Regions from separate parts of the Homo sapiens genome. Here regions 1, 3, 4, 5, 6 and 7 are each linked to region 2. Evidence: promoter capture Hi-C in 16 types of primary human blood cells and fetal thymus (Javierre and others, 2016). All regions are on one chromosome and are shown on one strand. The core of a region is centred on a gene start or on the middle of the fragment in contact, and the rest is flanking DNA. Distances in the headings are between cores, read along the strand shown. Region 1 overlaps TRPM7 (transient receptor potential cation channel subfamily M member 7). Region 2 holds the start of AP4E1 (adaptor related protein complex 4 subunit epsilon 1). Region 3 overlaps TRPM7 (transient receptor potential cation channel subfamily M member 7). Region 4 overlaps USP8 (ubiquitin specific peptidase 8). Region 5 overlaps TRPM7 (transient receptor potential cation channel subfamily M member 7). Region 6 overlaps TRPM7 (transient receptor potential cation channel subfamily M member 7). Region 7 overlaps USP50 (ubiquitin specific peptidase 50).

Evidence for each region. The method cuts DNA at HindIII sites, captures the fragments that hold promoters and counts their contacts. A CHiCAGO score of 5 or more calls a contact.
Region 1: a fragment that was not itself captured here is called in contact with the fragment with the promoter of AP4E1 in region 2 in 2 of 17 cell types (activated CD4 T cells and naive CD8 T cells); the score reaches 5.9 in activated CD4 T cells.
Region 3: a fragment that was not itself captured here is called in contact with the fragment with the promoter of AP4E1 in region 2 in 1 of 17 cell types (erythroblasts); the score reaches 5.1 in erythroblasts.
Region 4: a contact is called between a fragment that was not itself captured here and the fragment with the promoter of AP4E1 in region 2, in 6 of 17 cell types (endothelial precursors, megakaryocytes, non-activated CD4 T cells and 3 more). The highest score is 6.8, in endothelial precursors.
Region 5: a fragment that was not itself captured here is called in contact with the fragment with the promoter of AP4E1 in region 2 in 1 of 17 cell types (endothelial precursors); the score reaches 5.1 in endothelial precursors.
Region 6: a fragment that was not itself captured here is called in contact with the fragment with the promoter of AP4E1 in region 2 in 5 of 17 cell types (erythroblasts, naive CD4 T cells, activated CD4 T cells and 2 more); the score reaches 6.7 in erythroblasts.
Region 7: a contact is called between a fragment that was not itself captured here and the fragment with the promoter of AP4E1 in region 2, in 1 of 17 cell types (erythroblasts). The highest score is 6.0, in erythroblasts.

What each region holds. Positions count from the first base shown.
Region 1 is chr15:50,576,006-50,579,147 of GRCh38, forward strand. It overlaps TRPM7 (transient receptor potential cation channel subfamily M member 7), which reads right to left. Exons shown (of 39, transcript NM_017672.6): 31 at 2,634-2,659. Among named protein-coding and RNA genes, the nearest start is that of USP50, 31 kb to the left of the region's middle. The HindIII fragment of the contact is 6,054 bases long and covers 1-3,142 here.
Region 2 is chr15:50,906,914-50,910,220 of GRCh38, forward strand. AP4E1 (adaptor related protein complex 4 subunit epsilon 1) reads left to right here and starts at 1,770. Exons shown (of 21, transcript NM_007347.5): 1 at 1,770-2,015. The coding sequence starts at 1,866. RefSeq lists enhancers at 1,363-2,104, 1,579-1,868, 1,889-2,058, 2,105-2,846. The HindIII fragment of the contact is 3,809 bases long and covers 1-2,170 here.
Region 3 is chr15:50,593,692-50,596,831 of GRCh38, forward strand. TRPM7 (transient receptor potential cation channel subfamily M member 7) reads right to left here. Exons shown (of 39, transcript NM_017672.6): 23 at 2,564-2,690; 24 at 738-922; 25 at 1-58. Among named protein-coding and RNA genes, the nearest start is that of USP50, 49 kb to the left of the region's middle. The HindIII fragment of the contact is 5,842 bases long and covers 1-3,140 here.
Region 4 is chr15:50,495,176-50,498,645 of GRCh38, forward strand. It overlaps USP8 (ubiquitin specific peptidase 8), which reads left to right. Exons shown (of 20, transcript NM_005154.5): 17 at 673-909; 18 at 1,914-2,056; 19 at 3,421-3,470. It also overlaps a transcript of USP50 not described here. Among named protein-coding and RNA genes, the nearest start is that of USP50, 50 kb to the right of the region's middle. The HindIII fragment of the contact is 176 bases long and covers 1,597-1,772 here.
Region 5 is chr15:50,555,129-50,558,395 of GRCh38, forward strand. It overlaps TRPM7 (transient receptor potential cation channel subfamily M member 7), which reads right to left. Exons shown (of 39, transcript NM_017672.6): 39 at 2,030-3,267. Among named protein-coding and RNA genes, the nearest start is that of USP50, 10 kb to the left of the region's middle. The HindIII fragment of the contact is 6,844 bases long and covers 1-3,267 here.
Region 6 is chr15:50,619,905-50,623,388 of GRCh38, forward strand. All of the region lies in intron 12 of TRPM7 (transient receptor potential cation channel subfamily M member 7), which reads right to left. Among named protein-coding and RNA genes, the nearest start is that of TRPM7, 65 kb to the right of the region's middle. The HindIII fragment of the contact is 2,794 bases long and covers 290-3,083 here.
Region 7 is chr15:50,534,252-50,537,829 of GRCh38, forward strand. The region is part of intron 5 of USP50 (ubiquitin specific peptidase 50); the gene reads right to left. Among named protein-coding and RNA genes, the nearest start is that of USP50, 11 kb to the right of the region's middle. The HindIII fragment of the contact is 793 bases long and covers 1,796-2,588 here.

The sequences.
Region 1 (3,142 bases), core at 581-3,080, 330 kb before region 2:
TGAATTTCCATAGTGTAACTGTTCCTCACAAAAACAGAAAAATTAGGGATAAAATATGTCCACTGTGCTATATTACCCTATTTCATTATGCCAGATTAGTGACAGCTGTGCATTTAGACACCTACAAGTGAAGAGCACATTATGCTGCACACTATCCTAACTCCTGCCATAAACTCACTCCTCCCATACCTCCCATTCAGAAAGAAAAATCTCTCTTTGATTCTGATGTTTGGGGGTTGGGGACTGTAGCCATGTAAATATTTTAGCAGGTCTACCATGAGAAGATGAACTTCTGGAATGTGAAACATACCCATCAAAAGCCCTTCCCCCATCTTTTTGTGTGTGTGTGTGGAATTGACCTTTAAATGTTGCAAGAAGACAAAGACAAGTCAAATCTGCTATGTGCTAAGTTTCTAGAACACAAATAAAAAGAAACCTACTGTCTTGCAGGAAAAGGAAGTTAGCCAACAGTTTTAATACTGTATAAAAATATACTTTAAAAATGTGTATATACACATACATGTGTGCACATACTGTACGACTATATAGGAGTACCTAATGCCTTTTGGTTGAGAAGACGTCAAAGCTATCTCAGAGTAAGAGAAGGGGGAAGATTGACCTATAGTGCTTTTTGGACATACATCCACCCAGATGTCACTCCAAAATATTCTAATTCTGTAGGTATGTGTCATCATAGAAATGATTCTCTACAAATGATTTGAATATGCAGCTAAGACTACAAATTAATGGGCAAGAGTACAGGGATAACTGCAGGAGGTGAAGCTACAGAAACAGGGAATATCAAATTGTTAAGAGGAGGCCAGGCACAGTGGCTCACACCTATCATCATTAACACTTTGGGAGGCTGAGGTGGAAAGACTGCTTTGGGGCCAGGAGTTCAAGACCAGCCTGGATAACATGGCAAGGCCCCATTATCAACAAAAAAGATTTTTAAAATTAGCTGAGCAAGGTGGCACCCACCTGTAGTCCTAGCCACTCAGAAGGCAGAGGTGGGAGGAATGCTTGAGCCTAGGAGGTTGAGGCTGCAGTGAGCAAAGTCTGTGCCACTGCACTCCAACCTGGTGACAGAGAGATCCTGTCTTTGGCAGGGGAGGGGGCGGGAGGCGTGGAATTAAGAGCCTAAAGTGTGTGTGGGGGGGTAATTAAAAGCCTAATATGTCATGTTAAGGAAGAACACTGGATTTCATTAAACAACAATGGGGAAAAAATGTAAAGTGGAGGAGTGACCTTTAGAAAAATCAGGCCAGGTGCGGTGGCTCTCGCCTGTAATCTCAGCACTTTGGGAGGTGGAGGTGGGCAGATCATGAGGTCAGGAGTTAGAGACCAGCCTGGCCAACGTGGTGAAATCTCGTCTCTACAGAAACACAGAAATTAGCCGGATGTGGTGGTGCATGCCTGTAATCCCAGCTACTCGGGAGGCTGAGGCAGGAGAACTGCTTGAACCTGGGAGGCGGAGGTTGCAGTGAGCCAAGATCACACCACTATACTCCCTACTCCAGCCTGGACGACAGAGCAAGACTCCTTCTCACCCGGGGGCAGGGAAGGGTGGCAGAATAGAACATTGATGAGAAGCAAAACTACAGGCAGGGACCCCAAACTGGTATAACCACTCTGAAAACCTATTTGGTAGTAATTACCAAATGTGAACACATGCTAACTCTGACTCAGCAATTCCACTCCTAGGCATATGCCAATAATAAATAAATACATATGTTTATCAAACAACATGAACAAGAATGCTTGTAGCAGCAAGTCATAATAGCCATACAGTGGAAGCTACTGAAATGACCACCAAATAGCAGAATGGAAGTAAATTCAATATATTTACATAAGAAAATTTTATATAGTAGTGAGAATGCACAAATTACCACTATCCACAGCAATATTGATGAATTTTATAACAATATGTTAAGAAGAAGAAGCAAGACACAGAACAGTATATACTGTACAATTTCATTTATATAGCCAATATGCACATACATGCAAACACTCACACACGCACATACACCCCAAAATAGGTGAAACTATTGTTTTAGGGGCAGGGACTATAAGAAGTAGAAACAAAGGAATGGAGATATAGGCAAAATTGTTTTTAGGTGCTGATTACATGGCTATACTTACTTTGAAAGAATTCACTGAATTCTGCACTATTCTGTATGCACTATACACTTCGATAAAAGGTTGACAAAGTAATGGTCTAAGCTGAAAGCAGCAGTGGGATGTATAGTGGAGGATGGATTTTAGAGACATGTAGGAAGTAAATGCAATAGGACTTTGTGAGTACAAAGTCAAGGTGGTCAAGAATAACTCAGCTGACTAAAAGTTTCATTTGTTAAAACAGATGGAATATTAGAAAAGGAGCAGGCTGTATAGCAGAGACCAAGTAGCAGGGAGGAAGTGTGACAGTAAAGATATCATCATTCACAGGGTGATTCGTGTGTTTGTGAAACATCTACAGTAAGGAGAAAGTATATGAGGGAAGAACTCTTCAATACCTTGGCTTTTTCTAGCTTGAAGTCTAAAATATCTTACCTAGAATAATGTGGTGTTTGCTGTAACAGATCATGTAAGATTCTCATTTTTTTCACGTTCAATCTACCACACAGACTCACCATTTAATGTTCCTTCTTCAGATGGCCTAAAGAAACACCAAAAAATATAGTATAAGCTGTGCTATGATTTAAGTTTTGGCTATCATTTAATTTTTTGATTTTATACAATTATTATATAAAAAATATTATTAAGGAAATTCTGAAATTGATTCCCTTTGAATATTTGCCATTTCCCTTAAGCCAATCCCAATCCATATATAGATATATATATCTATATATATATATCCATATGTATCTACTTATTAATAACTTGTATCTCCAATTTATGCATAAATATTATTAGCAGTTTGGTGCCAAATTGAAGGCTCTATACTAATAAACTATTTCATAACTTCTGTATTCGTGGAGATTCATTCCAGTACTGTAACAATACATTGAGATGACTTTGCAGGATGCTAGAAATATTTCAATAGAATTGATGGACAAAGAACTGAGAGAAAAGTAAGTAGATGTCATTTTGCCTCTTAGTTTCTAATGTTGAAAAATATTTCTCCCAATGTTAACTGTAT
Region 2 (3,307 bases), core at 520-3,019:
GGAGGTTACAGAGATTAGAGCAGGTATAACCGAAGATAGCTTGTAAGTGTAGCTGTAGCTGGTGGGCCGGTTGAGGTTCTGGACTTCGCGGTGCAAAATAATTTTGAAGTCCAAAGTAAAAGCAAGCAAAAGAGTTTATTGCAAAGCGAAAGTACACCCTCACAGCTGATCAGAGCGGGCTGCTCAAAGGTGAGACAGCATGCACTGACACTGGGGAAACTCCCTTTGTAGGAGTCTCACAGGATCATTCATGAAGCGGGGAGAACGGGTGCTGCTATTAAGCACGTTCTCTGGTTTTCTGTCGCCATGTGCGCTGTGGTTGTATATGCTAGTACATACACTGCATGTCTTATTAGTATCTTAAATCTTCACCCAGGAGTGGTGTTTTTTTTTTTTTTTTTTTTTTACTATTATAATGAGTATAATTCAGCCCAACGACACTGATCATGGGTTTCTGCGCTTGTGAGAGTTTGGGGATTTTCCCTTCTGCTCTCGTACCTCTTTGCTGCAAAATTTTCTAACCAGGAGCCTCGGATGTGGTTTGTACACTATGGGCTGGTTTGTTCTATTTATTTAGCAAGTTTGTTCCCCTTGAAGGGAGGCTATCACCACCTACCTAACCTACCTCCTAGAAACACACTAGGAGTACTGAGAGCAAATTGCATTAATCTCTGAAAACGCACGTATTTATGCCCTAAACCTACTACCTTAGAAAATTCTAGAAAACACAAGGATACTCCAGGATACATTTTACCAGCTAGTCAATCGTCATCTAGCCGCTTGAAAACTCTGTACATTTCCAACAGAATGAGGGTAAAAACGGCAAATAACACGTAAGAAACGTTATCAATGTTGTTTTGACTTTGTGAATTCCCTAGAAGGGTCTCAGCGACCCTGAGGTCACCAGACCACATTTCGAGAGCCATTGTACCAGACTCTGTTCTAGATAAAAGACGGAGCAATCGGAATGAATAAAATACTCTCTCTATGGGGAGCTGTTTACGTAGTGGCAACTGCGACCTGTTCTAAAGTGGAACAGAACCGAGCGCTGTGAGAGGGTGGGACTTGGAGACCTATCCTTGCCCGCCGGGCCAGGGGAGTGGGCTCTAGAAGGATGACCTTTCAACTGCGACCTGCTGAGGAGGAGTCGGCAAGGGTGGCCGCCGACCAGTTCTCTTTCCCGCCCACCTCCCCAAATCCCAGGAGAAGAGGGGCGGACGGGAAGCGACAGTGGCCGCGAGTCCCCGGCACGCGACGGGCTCTCAACCTGGCACGCCGAATCCTCAGGACAGCCCCGCTATCACGCAACTACTCGGGTGTCCCAAGAGTCGCCAGGGCCGGAGCCGCGCGCGGCGCCGGGGACCCGCGTGAAACCGCCTGTGGGAAGCGGGCGGGTGGCGCGCGCTCCGGGGACAGTGAGAGGCGGCGGACGGCGCGGGGACGTCCCGAAAAAGGCGCAGCCAGGAAGACGCAACTCCTGACGCGGTCTCGGGCTACGCGGAGGCGGCTAGTGGGAAAGGGGGACTCTGGGAGACAGTGCCTAACAGGGCCAGGCCCCCGACGGCTTCCTCAGGAGGACTCACGGTTCTGGGGGATTCCGGAACCGCTACCCCGTCGCGAGAAAGGAGGTCTACTTACGCGCGCAATCTCGAGCGAGCGGCCTTTTCCACCCCCGCGGTCTCTTGCGCCCTCTGGTGGCCTCTCGCGAGAACGACGCTGAACTTGTTCAGGTGGGACGCCAATAAAGATTTCTTATTCAAAAAACAGGAAGTGCCTACGGAGGCCGGGCCGGCAGCGGCGGCCGGGCATGAAGCCGGGCGGCTACGGGATCGCGGGCGGCGGCGGCATCGCGGGCGGCGGCGGCGATGAGCGACATAGTGGAGAAGACGCTGACGGCGCTGCCGGGACTCTTTCTGCAGAACCAGCCCGGTGGTGGGCCCGCGGCCGCCAAGGCGTCCTTCTCCTCGAGGCTGGGCAGCCTTGTCCGCGGCATCACAGCCCTCACCTCCAAGCACGTAGGTGCCCGCCGGCCCGGGAGCTCAGGGACATCGGAGTGAGGCCCCCGCGCCAGGAGGCCCTGGCCGGGCGGCGAGACTTCAGGGCCTCTGGGGTTAGCCCTCCGGCGGGGCTCAGGGGCTGCTGTGTCGGTTCGTCCTTTCGTCTGCCTGGAAGCTTCACTTTCCTGCTGGGACTGACAGCAGGGAAGCCGAGTTTCCACAGTTAGTTCTGACACTGACTCTTTGATCGGGGGCACATCTCTGTAACCTCTGAGCCTCCGTGTGTTTTCTCAACGTTGTGGTGGAAAAGTACTGATACATAATTCATAGGTTTTTTGTTTGTTTTGAGGATTGGGTGAGATGTCAAGCGTGTGAAAATACCTAGTGCGATGGAAGTGTCAGACATTATTTACCTTCCACAAAGTTTTTTTTCCCTACTCAGTTTCCTTCTCTCCCCCGGTGCCTTCAACTGAACAACAGTTCAGATGTCGCATACCTGAAGAGATCCTGTGAGCCTCTTGTTGAATATCTTTGGGGAGCTTGAGGTTCTTGGGTTACAACAACGTGTTGGGCAAAGAAAAAGCACAGTTCTCTCAAAATGTAAAATTTGCTAAGTCTCTGCCTCAAGTGGGCTTTGAAAATGAGCAGTTATAAAAATTCTTAAACTTTTAAAATTTTTAAATTTTTATTGACGGAGTCTCTCTCTGTCGCCCAGGCTGGAGTGCAATGGTGCGATCTCGATCTCGGCTCGCTGGAGCCTTAAGGTTTTAAAAATTTTAATTTTTGTTTTTTTTTGAGACGGAGTCTCGCTCTGTCGCGCAGGCTGGAGTGCAGTGGCGCGATCTGGGCTCACTACAAGCTCCGCCTTCCGGGTTCACGCCATTCTCCTGCCTCAGCTTCCCGAGTAGCTGGGACTACAAGTGCCCGCCACTGCCTGGCTAATTTTTTGTACTTTTCGTAGAGACGGGGTTTCACCGTGTTAGCGAGGATGGTCTCGATCTCCTGACCTCGCGATCCGCCCGCCTTGGCGTCCCAAAGTGTTGGGATTACGTGCGTGAGCTACCCTGCCCGGCCTTAAAATTTTTAAATTTTTAATGACGGAGTCTCGCTCTGTCGCCCAGGCTGGAGTGCGATGGTGCGATCTTGGCTCACTGGAGCGTCTGCCTCCCGGGTTCAAGCGATTCTCCTGCCTCAGCCTCCCAAGTAGCTGGGATTATAGGCGTATGCCACTACGCCCGGCTAATTTTTGTATTTTTAGTAGAGACAGGATTTCACCATGTTGGGCAGGCTGGTCTTGAACTGACCTCAAG
Region 3 (3,140 bases), core at 623-3,122, 310 kb before region 2:
ACACACTGCTCTTCAAAATCATGAAGTTTCTTTTGATCTTCTTCTGTTAAGAAAAGTTCTATGGGAGGAAAAGGAGAAGAAAATCAAGGAAGAGCTATCAAGGTTTCAACTTTAGCTCATAATTCTTACGAATTATTCAGGGTTTCTAAGACTACATCCATCATCTGCACTTTTTAAACTTTTACTACTATGCTTCTAAAGCACTAGACAATTATCTTTCTTTTTTGCTTCACCAGTGTGATGTCAGCAGAATACAATCAGGTACTTCCTCCTCCTCTTCTGATTTCCTTTTCCTATACAACATCCCTCCGCTATCTCTCTCATACCTCTCCCTCACGTATCTACTCAGAGAAATTTAAGAACTAATTTGAAAGTCCCTGTAAAATTTTAAGCATAATTTGACACAGTATGATTAGTCTCATGTACACAGAATGTACTAAAATTGTTATTGTTTACAGAGCTGTAAAAATGGTTTGTAGAACAACAAAGAAGTTCGGTTTACATTACCATTTTAACAGAAACAGAGACGCCATTCTCATAACGAAGTTTAATGCTAAATCCATTTTTATAGATATCATATTGCACTTAAAAATTCCTTTATGTACAGGCATATTTAACAAAAATCTACCATAACATTAATCCACTAAGTCATTTTTGAATAAAATCAATATATAGCCTTTGGTGTAAAAATGAGAAGTGATAAAATGAAAACATTTGCCTTAATATAGTTTACTTACTTGGTCCATCGGAAGTCTTATCTTTCTTTCTTCTCTTACATATGCAGCAAAACAGAGAAACTATATGGCTAAGAATGATAAGTGGAGGAGGCAGAACTGGTTTCTCATGATAAGCCATAATAAAATGATAACGCTGGTACTTCCATACAATATTGGAAATTGCCTTCACTTGTAAATACACATTGCTAGAGAAATAATGAATAAAAATAAAATAAACTTTGTTAATCATCTCTTAAAGTTTTAAATACTGATGATTTCATTGTAATTCTGTACTAAATAATAATTCAAAAAATATCCTTCTGTAAACAAAACTAATAGCAAATGAGAAACTAGAAAAGATACAGGCAGTAAGTATAAGGCAAAGACTAACATTCAGCAGAAAAAAATAATTTAAAAAAATTTAAAATATTGTATGTAAATGGGTAAGACATAAGAAAATACTCAGACTTATTAGTAATCAAGTAAGTGCAAATTTTAAAAAACAAAATCCTGGCTGGGCATGGTGGTTCATGTCTATAATCTTAGCACTTTGGAAGGCCAAGAGGCAGGAGGAGTGCTTGAGGCCTGGAGTTCAAGACGAGCCTGGGCACCATAGTGAGACCCTGTCTATTTAAAAACAAAAAAGTTAGCCAGGCGTGATGGTGTATGCCTATAGTCCCAGCTACTCTGGAGGTGAGACAGGAGGGACTACTTGAGCCCAGATGGAAGAGGCTACAGTGAGCTGTGATAGTGCCACTGCACTCCAGCCTGGGCAACAGGCTGTCTCAAAAAATAAAATAAAATAATTTTATTTACTATCAAATTGGCAACCATTAAAAAAAAAATACTCAGTGTGGGCCGAGTTGAGGAAACAGGCCTATTTAGACTTAAGTGCAAAAGCCCTAAAAGTACATATACTGAACAGCCCTGCTTTTAGAAAAACATTCTAAACAAGCAAGTATTGCTCACAGATTTAACTACAATGTGGTGTTTAGGAGCAAGAATTACAATCTAATTGACCAATACAACATACTAGATTGAAAAATTATGGTCTATATCATGGAGTATCAGGTAGCCATTAAAAATAGACTGGAGAAGAATATTTGTTTATCTGAAATAATGTTCATGATGCTTTGCTTAGTTATAAAACAGTACATAAAATATAAAAATAGGCTAGGCACTGTGGCTCATGCCTGTAATCCCAGCACTTGGGGAAGCTGAAGTGGATGGATCACATGAGGCCAGGAGTTTGAGTCCAGCCCGGCCAACATGGTGAAACCTCATCTCTACTAAAAATACAAAAAAAATCAGCCAGGCGTTGTGGTGCACACCTGTAATCCCAGCTACTCAAGAGGCTGAGGCATGAGAATCCCTTGAACCCTGAAAACTAAGGTTGCAGTGAGCCAAGATTGTGCCACTCCAACCTGGGTGACAGAGGGAGACTGTGTCTCAAAAATAAATAAATTAAATAAAAATACTATTTCTGAAAAGAAAAATGGTTTACATATATTTGCAAAAAAAATGATAGAAAGGTGTACACCCAAATATTAACAGTGGAATTACTGATGAATTTTCTATATTGAATGCGTATTTGTTGGCAACCGAGGAAAAATCCCAGATAACGATTAAATTTATAAAGAAAACTGCAGGTTGAAAGATAATCAAACTTAAAATTTAGAACTCATTTGATTAGAAAAAGCATCTCCTATTTGTAATTTTTCAAATATAATTTTAGTAGTTTAAGCCTCAATAAAATTTTTAGATTTTAAGTTCTATAAATTTCCTTCAAAATATGTAGAATTGCATATTAAATCATCTTATAACAAACAATTGAACAAAATTCTTACTTGAAAAATGCAATAAGAAGATTAACCATAATGATATACTGTACAAAGAGGTAGACTGCTTGAAGAAATGGAGTCAACCACGTCCCAGGACCACAGATTTGAGGGATAACAGAATCATTTGCACACACTTTAGAGAGAAAAAAAGAAAAAAACAAAAACAACTTAAAAATAGTAATTCATCAGTAACTGCTATTCATGAGTGTTTCTGGTTATTTATTTACTTAAAGTAAGTTTCGATTATGTACAAATCTGTTTCACAGATTCCAGCAAAAGCATCTGGGCAAGGAGACATAGGAACCCCAGCTTAAGAGTGTTCAAACACAAAAAGATGTTGTGAGAAATGTGGGTGCTATCTGTTTTACAACTCTATTCCAGAAAAGAAAGTATATTTAGGTGTTATATTTACCCTTCGAGGCAGGGTTTAACCTGACGAGCACTAAAGAGGGTAAAATTCCTGGATCAACCATATGATAATATTTCTGTAAGAAAAATGTCCAAACTTTTTTTTTCCCCTGAGACGGAGTCTTGCTCTGTCACCCAGGCTGGAGTGCAGTGGCGCGATCTCGGCTCACTGCAA
Region 4 (3,470 bases), core at 435-2,934, 410 kb before region 2:
TAACCACTGAACAGATATATATATATATACACACACACCTACACAAAAATATTTGTGTATATATATATACGTGTATATATACATACATATATACACATATATATACACATACATATATACATATATACGTGTATATATACATACATATATACACATATATATACACATACATATATACATATATAGAGAGAGAGAGGCTAGGGCAACAAAATTATATATGTCCAGTTGTAGCCCTAATTCCCAGCTATATGTGGGATATCTTTTCTAAAAACCAAACTTTTTAGCTTTTTCTTTTTTTAGTAGAGATTGGAGGGGGGGGTCTCACTATGTTGCACAAGTTGGTCTCGAACTCCTGGCCCCAAGCAGTCCTCCTGCCTTGGCTTCCCAGAATGCTGGGATTACAAGCATGAACCACCACATCTGGCCCTTTTCAGCTTTTTAAATAAAAATTTGGGAAATTTCAACAAGTCACATTCCTTCAATAAAGTGAGTGAGTTTTTTTTGGTATTTTTGGCTAGAATTATTTTTTGCCACACTCAGTGAGATCAGAACTCCTTTATGAGAACTACAGGTGTTTCTAAATCTGGCAAGTGTTTGTATTCACTTTTATTCTTTCAATTTAAATGTTTTCTTTGAGATATTAATATAGAGCTTAAATCATTTTATTTCCAGGCTGATAATCGGAAGAGATATAAAGAAGAAAATAATGATCATCTCGATGACTTTAAAGCTGCAGAACATGCCTGGCAGAAACACAAGCAGCTCAATGAGTCTATTATTGTTGCACTTTTTCAGGGTCAATTCAAATCTACAGTACAGTGCCTCACATGTCACAAAAAGTCTAGGACATTTGAGGCCTTCATGTATTTGTCTCTACCACTAGCATCCACAAGTAAATGTACATTACAGGTAAGTTTAAGAAGTAGAGAGAAAATGATTTATTGGATAAAAATGCTGTTTTTATGGATATAGAGATGTAAATTTCTGGTCTTTACCCTTACAAACATTTTATCAGTAAAACTCGGCCGGGCGCAGTGGCTCATACCTTGTACTCCCAGCACTTTGGGAGGCCGAGGTGGGCGGATCACGAGGTCAGGAGATCGAGACCATCCTGGATAACACGGTGAAACCCCATCTCTACTAAAAATACAAAAAATTAGCCGGGCGTGGTGGTGGGCACCTGTAGTCCCCGCTACTCAGGAGGCTGAGGCAGGAGAATGGCGTGAACCCTGGAGGCGGAGTTTACAGTGAGCTGAGATCTCGCCACTGCACTCCAGCCTAGGGGACAGAACAAGACTCCGTCTTAAAAAAAAAAAAAAAAAAAACCTTTTATCAGTAAAACTCAATATAAATTCTGTTTTATAATTAGGCCTATGTAGATTAGAAAGAATTAGAAATTTCTTTTTTAAAGATACCTTTATTAAATATTCTTTCAGGATTTCAGGATTGTTAGTATGTTTTTAAAAAGTTTTATAAGTTAATTTGGAAAGTTGTCTGTTGACTAACTTAGGCCTACTTTTCATAAGCATTTGCTTTACATGGGGATATCAAATAAATATCCTGTTTTCCATGTATCAACAATGTTTCTTATATAAAAGCTTGTTGATACCTTTAGTCTTAAAGTACCTCCAGAATGTCATTTCCTCCAACAGGGTTTCTCTGATTGACCAGGTTAGGGGCTTTCCTGTGTCCTGTCACAACACACTGTAGGTAGCACTCACCACACTCTGTGCTGTCATTGTTCACTTGTCTATGCTTCTCACTAGATCACAAGCTTTGGGAAGGCAGGAACTCTTTTGTGTAGATTGCTGTTGAATCACTGGTGCCTGCAGAGTGACTAACTAAATAGGTGCTCTCTGACATTATTGAAGAATCGAATTAACGAGTATCTGCTACTTGTTTTTTTCTGCCAGGATTGCCTTAGATTATTTTCCAAAGAAGAAAAACTCACAGATAACAACAGATTTTACTGCAGTCATTGCAGAGCTCGACGGGATTCTCTAAAAAAGATAGAAATCTGGAAGTTACCACCTGTGCTTTTAGTGCATCTGAAACGGTAAAGGGGAAAGTTTGTCCTCCTGTTCAGTGAAATTAAATGAGGGAATTTTAAGTTCTGTGTAATTTATACTTGTTGTACTGCCTGCCATGGGCACATAACAAAGGGCGATTATCTGGTTACAGTAGATCTAGGGAAATAAAGCAGAAATGAGACTGTTAGTTCACCTCAGTGTTTTCAGTACCACAGCAAAATGACAATACCACTATTTCATGTAATTCCTTATAATTTTAAATAATTACAAAGCATCAAGTGAAAATGTATAAAAATATTACAGTATAATTCAAACAAATTAGCACATGAAATGTAACATTCAAACAGCAGACTAAAGCATAACAGACTTAGTTATGTGTTAAATAAAATTTATAATTTTTAAAGTATTTTAATGATAAAATATGTTAACGATACCATTAAGTGCAGAAATAATTTCATCCAGATTTTTCCAATTGATGGAAAAGATCTAGTCCTATAATAGAAGGAATAATGACAAGAGTTATAAAACACGAACCAGATCTTTTGCTGATTCTTTGGTCTTCACATAATCACATAATCCATGTAACTCAAGAACTTTGAGTTGATTATTTGAAAAACTTTTTAAAGGAAGTTGCACTTTTTTATTGAGAGCTGTAATTTTTGTGTCAAAAAAGCATTTCTGTTAAAAATGTTTTATCTTGTATTGAGATTCTTAGTTCCATATATTAATTTCCAAATTTACATGTTCAGATTTCTCTTGTGTAAATTTTTCTAACAAAAGCTAGTTTTTTCCATTGTCCTAGTTGAGGATTCTGGAAGTATAAACATTCTATAAGTGATTACACATTTGCTAAAATTTTTAATGCTGAATATTTTCAAAATTATGAAATAACCATATTACACCAACCAAGATATCATTGTTTTGATGTTTAAAGGAGCAGAATATGCCAGAATAATGGAATGAATGACATTATTTTAGTCAGTAGTCTCCTACTCTCAATTTCTGGCTCTAGTTTTCTCTGAAGTACAAGCTTGACTCGAGAGCAGCTGTCATTCTTTCTTTTGTGGTGGTCAGCATTATAAACATGTGGGTCTTACCTTCCTAGAAGACTCATGTAGCAGTTGTAGCTGGACCAGAGTATAGTCCTACCTCTACCATTCTGGCTGTTTGACCTTAGGCACATCATTAAATATCCATATGCCTCAGTTTTCTTGTTTGTAAAATGGAAATGAAGCCAAATGTCTTTAACAGGTTCCTCTACTACTAAAATTCCAAGTCTTTGTATTTGAAATGGATTTTACAGTCCTGGCTAAAAATCTAGATGTTAATGAATGAGGATTCATCCTGGTATCTTCCTCTGTCAGTGTAATTGTAATGTTTTGTTCTGCAGTTTTTCCTACGATGGCAGGTGGAAACAAAAATTACAGACATCTGTGGACT
Region 5 (3,267 bases), core at 676-3,175, 350 kb before region 2:
TTGAGGATGAGGACACGAAAATTGGATGAGAAGTAGTTTCCTAAAGGTTAACTGTAATGTAGACTCTGAAACCTCGTAAACAAACCTTTTCTACTATGTTAGATCTTTCACTCATGCATTATTTTGTAATACTATGCATTGGTCATTCCGAAAATACTGGTTTAGTTATGCAGATCTTCGAAACACTGACACATCTCATTATACACTATCTAAATAAAATCATTTTTGGCCTGGTGCGGTGGCTCATGCCTGTAATCCCAGCGCTTTGGGAGGCCGAGGCGGGTGGATCACCTGAGGTCAGGAGTTCATGACCAGCCTGGCCAACATGGTGAAACCCCGTCTCTACTAAAAGCACAAAAATTAGCCGGGCGTGGTGGCTCATGCCTGTACTCCTAGCTACTTGGGAGGCTGAGGCAGGAGAATCACTTGAACCTGGGAGGCGGGGTTTGCAGTGAGTGGAGATCACGCCACTGCACTCCAGCCTGGGCAACAAGAGCAAAACTCCGTCTCAAAAAAAACCAAAAACCAAAAAACAAGTTTTAATATCAACACTACTGATTTCATTAGGAAAGTATTAGGAAGCTGTAGTGCTACTGGTGTTAAAGTCAAGTTTTCCAAAATTCCAATTTTCACTTGATTCATGGTAAGGTTCTGGCAGTTTTACCCATCACTGCTTTTACTCCATCAATAAAACTCTCAATACAGCGAAAAAGGCGAATAATATCTTAGTATTATAAGTTTTGACCTTATGTTATGTACACCTTGAAATTGTCCTGGGGAGACTCTCAGGGGTCTGTGACCCACCATGAGCACCACTGACCTAATTAATAATAGACCTAGGCAATGACTATCAAAAAGACAACCAGGCATGTGTTTCCTAACAGAATTATATACCCCCACCAATGAAGCATTCTTACCAAAAATTCAATACTGAATCTGATCAAGCCTTTAGACCTAACTAACCACTAGTTTATGACATATGCAGGAAACAATCAGCAAAATCTCAAATGTAGTAAACTTTTCAGGACAAGTAAGTTGGTTCTTTAAAACATAAGCAGGGGGCAAAGATGAGACAGAGAACCTACATACTAAGAGACTTTAAAAACAAGCAATTGTTGGCTGGGTTCAATGGCTCACGCCTATAATCCCAGCACTTTGGGAGGTGAAGGCGGAAGCAGGTGGATCACTTGAGGTCAGGAGTTCGAGACCAGCCTGGCCAACATGGTGAAACACCGTCCCTACTAAAAATACAAAAATTAGCCTGGTGTGGCAGCATGTGCCTGTAGACCCAGCTACTTCGGAGGCTGAGGCAGGAGAATCATTTGAACCTGGAAGCGAAGGTTATCACTCCACTGTACTTCAGCCTGGGCAACAGAGCAAGACTCTGCCTCCAATAAAAACAAAACAAAACTAGCAAGGAACTGCAATGTATGGACCTTCTGTGTCCTAATTAAATTACTTAAAACAAATTTTTTTTAGAGCAATGATTACATATTTGACAATATTTTTGGTTAAACTTTCAGGTGTAATAATGTTATAGTTCTTAATCTTTAAGAAACATATACTGACATAATTAAAATGAAAGAAAAATTCTGTAATGCAGGATTACACAGAAATTCCAAGGGAAATACAAGGAGAGAGCCTAATGTTGGTTTGGACAGCACAAGAAGAAAGTGCTCTGTTCACTGGTGCTATTTACTGTTAGCCTGAAGTGTGTGGCTTTTCTGAAGAATAACCACATCCTCTCCCATCTTCATGCCCACCAATGTGGAATCATGGGCCCCAGGAATGGAAATCTGCTTTAAGGAGTTTCCAAAGAAGTTAGAAAATCATATTCTAGAGAGGACCAGAGCCTTAGCCTGGAATTTTCCTAAGAAAAAGCTCACAGATCATTTGGGACCTTTAAATACAGATGCCTTGTTGAAACCCAGCTAGGAAGCAATAAGATCAGATATGGTAAATAAGGAGAAATTCAAAAATCCCTGTTGTGTAGACACATCATTTTCTGTAAATAATTACTTGATCTTTCTTTCAAGTGGTAAATAGCCATTTATTGAGTATTCTTGCTTTGATTGTCTACGTAAGCATGTAAGACTACAACATTACGACCCATCTCTTCAAGAGGAAGTCTGGTATTATGGAAAAACATTTTGTCATTCAGATTTTTTTTTCTTACAGTATGCCCATCACAAACCAGGCAGCAAGCAAGGTATTGGGTGCTACTCAATCCAGTGAAGTCTTGAGGGTCCCTTCCCTCTGTGAAGCATATAATCTAGTGGGGTAGACTGCTAGCTACTAACTATGAAAACAACATAGTCTGACTTGAGAGTGGGGAAAGTGGAACAAGGGAGTAATTTTTATATTTTTCTTCACATTTAAAAATATTTTCTAAACAATCCAATATAATCTTTTCTATAATTTCCAATACAATCAACATGTATTACTTGTAAAATAATAGCATACATATATCGACAGACTGAAGAAGGTATACTATTAGAGAACATTTGCAGAAAAGAATTCCACATCTTTTTTTTGAGACAGAGTTCTGCTGTCACCCAGGCTGGAGTGCAGTGGCAGCAATCTAGGCTCACTGCAACCTCCACCTCTTGGGTTCAAGCAATTCTCCTGCCTCAGCCTCCTGAGTAGCTGGGCCTACAGGCACGCGCCACCACACCCAGATAATTTTTGTATTTTTAGTAGAGACGGGGTTTCACCATGTTGGCCAGGCTGGTCTTGAACTCCTGACCTCAGATGATCCACCCACCTTGGCCTCCCAAAGTGATGGAATTACAGGCGTGAGCCACTGCACCTGGCCGAGAATTCCACATTTTAAGAATATGGTAAAAGAGTTTTATTCTCTTCAGTAAGATGAGGTTGAGAATAAAAAATTAAAAAGATTAAGCAAATGACACTTTCACATCATAGGGTAGTAATAATGAACTTTAATAATCTTAAAAAAATACTTATTGGGGATAAGAAATGTGGTTTACAAGTAAACTGTTACTTTCTAGACTTAACCCAAGAAGTTAATGGAGTAGGTGTGTTTCAGTAAAGTAACAGGAAATGGTACAGAAACCACCAATGGTCATCATGCTTGAGAGTCAATACAGCACATAATTCACAGCACAGATGAGGCTGGGTGCAGCAATTCATGCCTGCAATTCTACCACTTTGGGAAGCTCAGGCGAGAGGATCACTTGAGCCCAGGAATTTGAGACCAGCGTGGGCAACAAGGCTAGACCCCATCTCTACAAAATATATATTTAA
Region 6 (3,484 bases), core at 437-2,936, 290 kb before region 2:
TATTTCCTTAAGTTCTATTCATAAAGTAGAACAACAAAGAATTTTCACATTTACTGCCAAAAAACAAATAATCTTAAGAGTATCACTAAAATGATACATAAGTTTTTGTTTCACAAAAGTCATCACTGCAACTTTACAATTGTATCTTAAATTTAAATTTACATTTCTTTCATTGATAATGGCGCTGTACAATACCTTTCTTCTTGTTAAAATGTCTGTTCCTCTGTTTCTGTCACTAATAAAGTCATATTGAGACTTTAAATATTTTGGGTAACAAGACTTTAACACAAGCTTGTTCAACCTGTAACCCACGGGCTGCATGCAGCCCAAGATGGCTTTGAATATGGCCCAAGACAAATTTGTAAACTTTCTTAAAACATAGAGTTTTTTTTTCAATTTTTTTCAATTTTTTTTTTTTTAAGCTCATCAGCTATCGTTAGTGTTAGTGTATTTTATGTGTGGCCCAAGACAATTTTTCTTCCAATGTGGCCCAGGAAAGCCAAAAGATTGGACATCCCTGATTTAACATTTATATATGCCATAATTTTGCCATTATCTTACTTCTCTTTATATATACTGTTAGAGTGGGCCACCTACCATTATTTCTTTGGAGAAAAAGTTATTTTCTTTGATATTCTTGGCTTTCAAATTCTATATAATATTTAAGATGACTACAATTGATATTGCATATGAATCATATTTTACTTTACTTTGCTCTGCCTTCTTTTTACAATATTTATTTAGGGCTGGGCGCGGTGGCTCAAGCCTATAATCCCAGCACTTTGGGAGGCAGAAGCGGGTGGATCACCTGAGGTCAGGAGTTCGAGACCAGCCTGACCAACACGCAGAAACCCCGTCTCTACTAAAAAAACACAAAATTAGCCGGGTGTGGTGGCACATGCCTTTAATTCCAGGTACTCGGGAGGCTGAGGTAGAAGAATCGCTTGAACCCGGGAGGCGGAGGTTGCGGTAAGCCGAGATCGCGTCATTGCACTCCAGTCTCAGCAACAAGAGTGAAACTCCATCCCCCAAAAAAGTAAAAAATTTAAAAAATTCCATCCTGGCTAACACGGTGAAACCCCGTCTCTACTAAAAATACAAAAAATTAGCCGGGCATGGTGGCGGGCGCCTGTAGTCCCAGCTACTCGGGAGGCTGAGGCAGGAGAATGCCGTGAACCCCTGGGGGCGGAGCCTGCAGTGAGCCAAGATCGCGCCACTGCACTCCAGCCTGGGCAACAGCGAGACTCCGTCTCAAAAAAAAAAAAAAAAAAAAAAAAACCTATTTATTTAGTCGATCAACTCAGGGGCTAAGTTCTCTCTGCCAATTCTCCCCCACAGGTGAACTTTTTAAAATAAAAGTTTCTTCTAAGTTAATAAGACGTATCTCATATTTTGGGGGTATTGGGGAATTTCATTGCATTTTTCTCTAACGGTATGTAATCACATGGAAAGGCACTTAAAATTTCTTAAATTCTATTTTATCCTACTCTATTAAATGTTTATCCATTAAAAATAAATTGTTAATAAATAATAAATGTACTTTAACACAGTAATTCTCAAAGTGTGACCTGGGGACACCTGAGGCCCCCATGATTCCTTCAGGAGTTCCACAAGATCAAGACTTTTTTCCTAATCATATTAAAATTGTATTATTTCATTCTTATTCTCTCAGTGTTTGGTGGAGTTTTCCAGAGGCTTTTTGATGTGTGATATTGTGAGATTGAATTCAGAAGCAAATACGAGAATCCAGCTGCTTTTATAAGGCTAGACTTTAAAGACATTTGCAAACGTGTTTTCCTCTTCTCACCAATTTTTTTGTTTTCTTTAAAAATAAAAACATAGCAGGCTGGGTGCGGTGGCTCATGCTTGTAATCCCAGCACTTTGGGAGGTCGAGGCAGTGGATCACCTTAGGTCAGGAGTTCAAGACCAACCTGGCCAACACGGTGAAACCTCATCACTACTAAAAATACAGAAATTAGCTGGGCGTGGTGGTGGGCATCTATAATCCCAGCAACTTGGGAGGCTGAGGCAGGAGAATCGCTTGAACCTGGGAGGTGGAGGTCGCATTGAGCCAAGATTGTGCCACTGCTCTCCAGCCTGGATGACAAGAGCAAAACTGCGTCTCAAAAAAACAAAACAAAACAAAAAAAAAGTATCAGGCAGAAGGGTGCTAATTTAAGAAAAAAGAAATAAGAACAAATATTTATGTTAATATGGGATAAGTTTAGAAATTTTAAGTAAATATAACTGCTACTTTAATAAAAACAAATATTTTTTAAAACTCTCATTTTTACATTCTAAAATACCAACACACACAAACAAAACCTCTTTAGAAAAGCTCTTTGAAGTTCTCAATAATTTTAATGTAAAGGAACCCTGAAAATCAAAAAGTTTGAGAACTACTGCTTTATCATGTTGCAAGCCCTTAAATGTTTTAAAACTTCATCAATAATTGATGCTGAAAGTAACTACAGTATTATCTTAACACCTTTGAGTCATACAATTTAAAAAATTACTTGTCTTGCTAATGGGATCAATTTTTATTTTTATTATTTTACATTGCTTTATAGTTCAGGTATAAACCTTACTACAGCACAATGAATAATCCTTTTAATTTTTACATCTGTCCACTAGGGACAGTAAAATGCCAACAAAGTTCAACGCAAATGTGCTACACATACTAAAAGAAAATAATGGAAGCTGGGCCCAGTGGCTCACGCCTGTAATCCCAGAACTTTGGGAGGCTGAGGCAGGCGGATCATCTGAAGTCGGGAGTTCAAGACCAGCCTGGCCAACATGGCGAAACCCCATCTCCACTAAAAATACAAAAATTAGCTGGGCATGGTGGCATGCACCTGTAATCCCAGCTACTCAGGAGGCTGAGGCAGGAAAATTGCTTGAACCCGGAAGGCAGAGGTTGCAGTGAGCCCAGATCGTGCCACTGCGCTCCAGCTTGGGCAACAGAGTGAGATTCTTTCTCAAAAAAAGAAAAAAAAGGGAGAAAATGAGATATAATACCTACTTCAAAGAAATTTACAATCCAAAGGGAAAGACATAATAATTGTACTTAACTATGCCACCAAGCTTCATGGAACCAGTGGCATGGCATTTAAGCTAAGTCCTAAGCAATTAATAAAATTTCAATAAATGGGTTATTAGTTGGAAGCAAAACAGACCAGCACTGTGAAAATAGCAAATGCTTTTTTTTAAAAAAGTTTGCATTTTTGGCCGGGTGCAGTGGCTCACGCCTGTAATCCCAGTGCTTTGGGAGGCTGAGGCGGGCAGATCACGAGGTCAAGAGATCAAGACCATCCTGGCCAACATGGTGAAACCCCGACTCTACTAAAAACACAAAAATTAGCTGGGTGCAGTGGCACACGCCTGTAGTCCCAGCTACCTGGGAGGCTGAGGCAGGAGAATCACTTGAACCAGGGAGGCGGAGGCTGCAGTGAGCAAAGATGGCACCACTGCACTCCAGCCTGG
Region 7 (3,578 bases), core at 942-3,441, 370 kb before region 2:
ATACAAGGAAAGCAGTATGGTATTATTTGAAAGTGGACCAGGATTAGTTGTAAATGTATATTGCAAACTCTAGGGCAACCACTAACAAATGTTTTAAAAAGTATAACTGATGTGGTAATAAAGGAGAGAAAATGGAGTCATATAAGATGCTCAGTAAAACCACAAAAAGCAGGAAAAGAGTGGTAGATAAAAACAGGAACACCAAGAACAAGGGCAACAAATAGCAGTAACAAATACAACAGATATTTAACCCAACGGCATCAACAATCACTTTGAATGTCGATGGTCTATATACATTAATTAAAACACAGATTGTTTTAATCCGTGAATCAAAAACAAAATTCAACTGTGTACTGTGTACAAGAAACATACTTGAAATATAAAGACACACAGAGCCTAAAAGTAAACAGAGGAAAATATACCATCCTACCACTAAGAAAGTGGGAGTAGCTATATTAATTTCAGACAGAGCAGTCTTCAAAGCAAAGTGATTGAGGATAAAAAGGGCCATACATAATGATAAAGGGATCACTTTTTCAAGAAGACATAGAAATTATTAACATATATGCACCTAACAACAAAGGGTCAAAATACATGAGGAAAAACTGGCTGGGTACCGTGGCTCATGCCTGTAATCCCAGCATTTTGGGAGGCCGAGGTGGGCGGGCCACTTGAAGTCAGGAGTTCAAGCCCAGCCTGGCCAACATGGCTAAACCCTGTCTCTACTAAAAATACAAAAACCAGCCAGGTGTGGTGGCACGCACCTGTAATCCCAGCTACTGGAGGCTGAGACACAAGAATTGCTTAAACCCAGGAGGCAGAGTTTGCAGTGAGCCAAGACGGCACCACTGCACTCCAGCCTGGGCAACAGAGTGAAACTCTGTCACACACACACACACACACACACACACACAAAAATTGATAGAAGTGCAAGGAGAAATAGATGAATCACTTTTATAGTTGGAGATATCAACACACCTCTGTCAGAAATGGACAGATCCAGCAGGCAAAAAATTAGTAAGGACATAGTTAAACTCAACGACACCATCTGTCCATAGATGTAATTGACATCTGTAGACTCTTTCACCCAACAACAGCAGAATATATATTATTCTCAAGCTCACATGGAACATTCACCAAGCCTCTAGCTAGGCTAAATAAGGGTAAGTTAGACCTTCTGGCCTAAGGTGTGCTTGTTAAAACACACTTTAACAAATTTAAAATAATAGAAATCATACAATCTCTGCTCTCAGACCACAATGGAATTAAACTAGAAATAACAGAAAGATAATTAGGAAATCCCCAAATACATGGAGATTAAGCAACACACTTCTAAATAACACAAGTCAAAGAAGATAGCTTGAAAGAAATTTCAAAATGGGCTGGGCACAGTGGCTCACGCCTGTAATTCCAGCACTTTGGGAAGCCAAGGTGGGAGAATCTCTTGAGCCCAGGAGTTCAAGACCAGCCTAGGCAACATAGTGAGACATCAACTCTACAAAAAAATTTTAAAAATTAGCTGGGCATGGTCCTAGCTACATACCTTTATCCCAGGTATGCAAAGCTGGTCCTACATTGGAAAAATTAATGAAATCTATCACATAATTAGGTTAAAGGAAAAAAAATCACACACACAATCAAATCAACAGACACAGAAAAAGTGTCTGACAAAATCCAATACCCATCATGATAAAAACTCTCAGTAAACTAAGAATAGAGGAGAACTTCTTCAACTTAATAAAGAATGTCTACAAATAATCTACAGTAACATCATACTTAATGGTGAGTAACTAGAAGCTTTCCCACTACAGTCAGGAGCAAGGCAAGGATGTCCCCTCACCACTACTTTTCAACATTGTATTAGAAGACCTAGCTAATGCAATAAGAAAGACAAGAAAATAACAGGTATAGAGACAGGGAAGTAAGAAATAAAACCGTCTTTGTCTACAGATGACATGATTGTATATGTTGAAAATCTGAAGGAATCAACAAAAAAACCTCTTGGAAATAATAAACAATTATAGCAAGATTGTAGGATACAAGATTCATATACAAAAAGTATATTACACATCAGCTTTGAACAAATGGAATTCAAAATTAAAAATATGGCTGGGCATGGTGGCTCACACCTGTAATCCCAGCACTTTGGGAGGCCAAGGTGGGTGGATCACCTGAGGTCAGGAGTTCAAGACCAGCCTGGCCAACATGACGAAACCCTGTCTCTACTGAAAATACAAAAACTAGTCGGGTATGGTGGTGCATGCCTATAATCCCAGCTACTCAGGAGGCTGAGACTGGAGAATCACTTGAACCTGGGAGGCAGAGACTGCAGTGAGCCGAGATCGTGCCACTGCATTCCAGCCTGGACAACAGAGCAAGACTCCATCTCAAAAAAATTTTAATTTAATTTAAAATGAATTAAAAAAAAACACAATACCATTCACATTAGCACCCTCAAAAATGAAATACTTAGTTATAAAATTAACAAAATATGTACAAGACCTATAGAAGGAAAACTAGAAAATTCTCATGAAAGAAATCCAAGAGGAACCTAAATAGAGAGATATATTCTATATTCATGGATAAGAAGCTTCAATATTGTCAAGATGTCAGTTCTTCCCAACTTGATCTGTAAATACAATGCAATCCCAATCAAAATCCCAGCAACTTATTTTGTGGATATTGACAAAATGATTCTAAAGTTTATGGGGTGAGGTAAAAGATCCAGAGTAGCCAAAACTATACTGAAGGAAAACATAATTGGACTGACATTACCAAACTTCAAAACTTATTTTAAAACCAGAATAATCAAGACAATGTGGTATTGGTGAAAAAAATAGAAAAATAATGGTATAGACAAGAGAGCTCAGAAAGGGACCCACAAAGATATAATCAACTGATCATTGACAAAGGAACAAAGGTAATACAATGGAGAAAAGATGACCTTTTTCAACAAATGGTGCTAGGACAACTGGATATCCACGCGAAAAAAAAAAGAAGAAGAAGAAGAATCCACACACAAACCTTACACCCTTCACAAAAATTAACTCAAAATGGATCACAGACCAAAATGTAAAACAGAAAACTACAAAACTCCTGGAAGATAACACTGGAGAAAATCTAGATAATCTTGTGTTTGGCAATGACTTTTTAGCTACAACACGAAAGGCCTGCTTTACAAAAGAATTGATAAGCTGGACTCCATTACAGTCAAAATTTTCTGCTCTACAAAACACTGTCAAGAGAATAAAAAACAAGCCATGGACTAAAAAAAAAAAAAGACACATCTGGTAAAGAACTGCTATTGAAAATATACAAGAAACTTGGCCAGGCACAGTGGCTCATGCCTATAATCCAAGCACTTTGGGAGACCGAGGTGGGCAGATCGCCTGAGCTCAGGAGTTCAAGACCAGCCTGGGCAACATGGTGAAAACCTGTCTCTACCAAAAAAAATAAGAATTAGCTGGGCGTGGTGGCGGGTGCCTGTAGTCCCAGCTACTCTGGAGGCTGAGGCAGGAGAATGGCTTGAACTAGGGAAGTGGAGGCTGCAAGAACCAAGATTTCACCACTGCACTCCA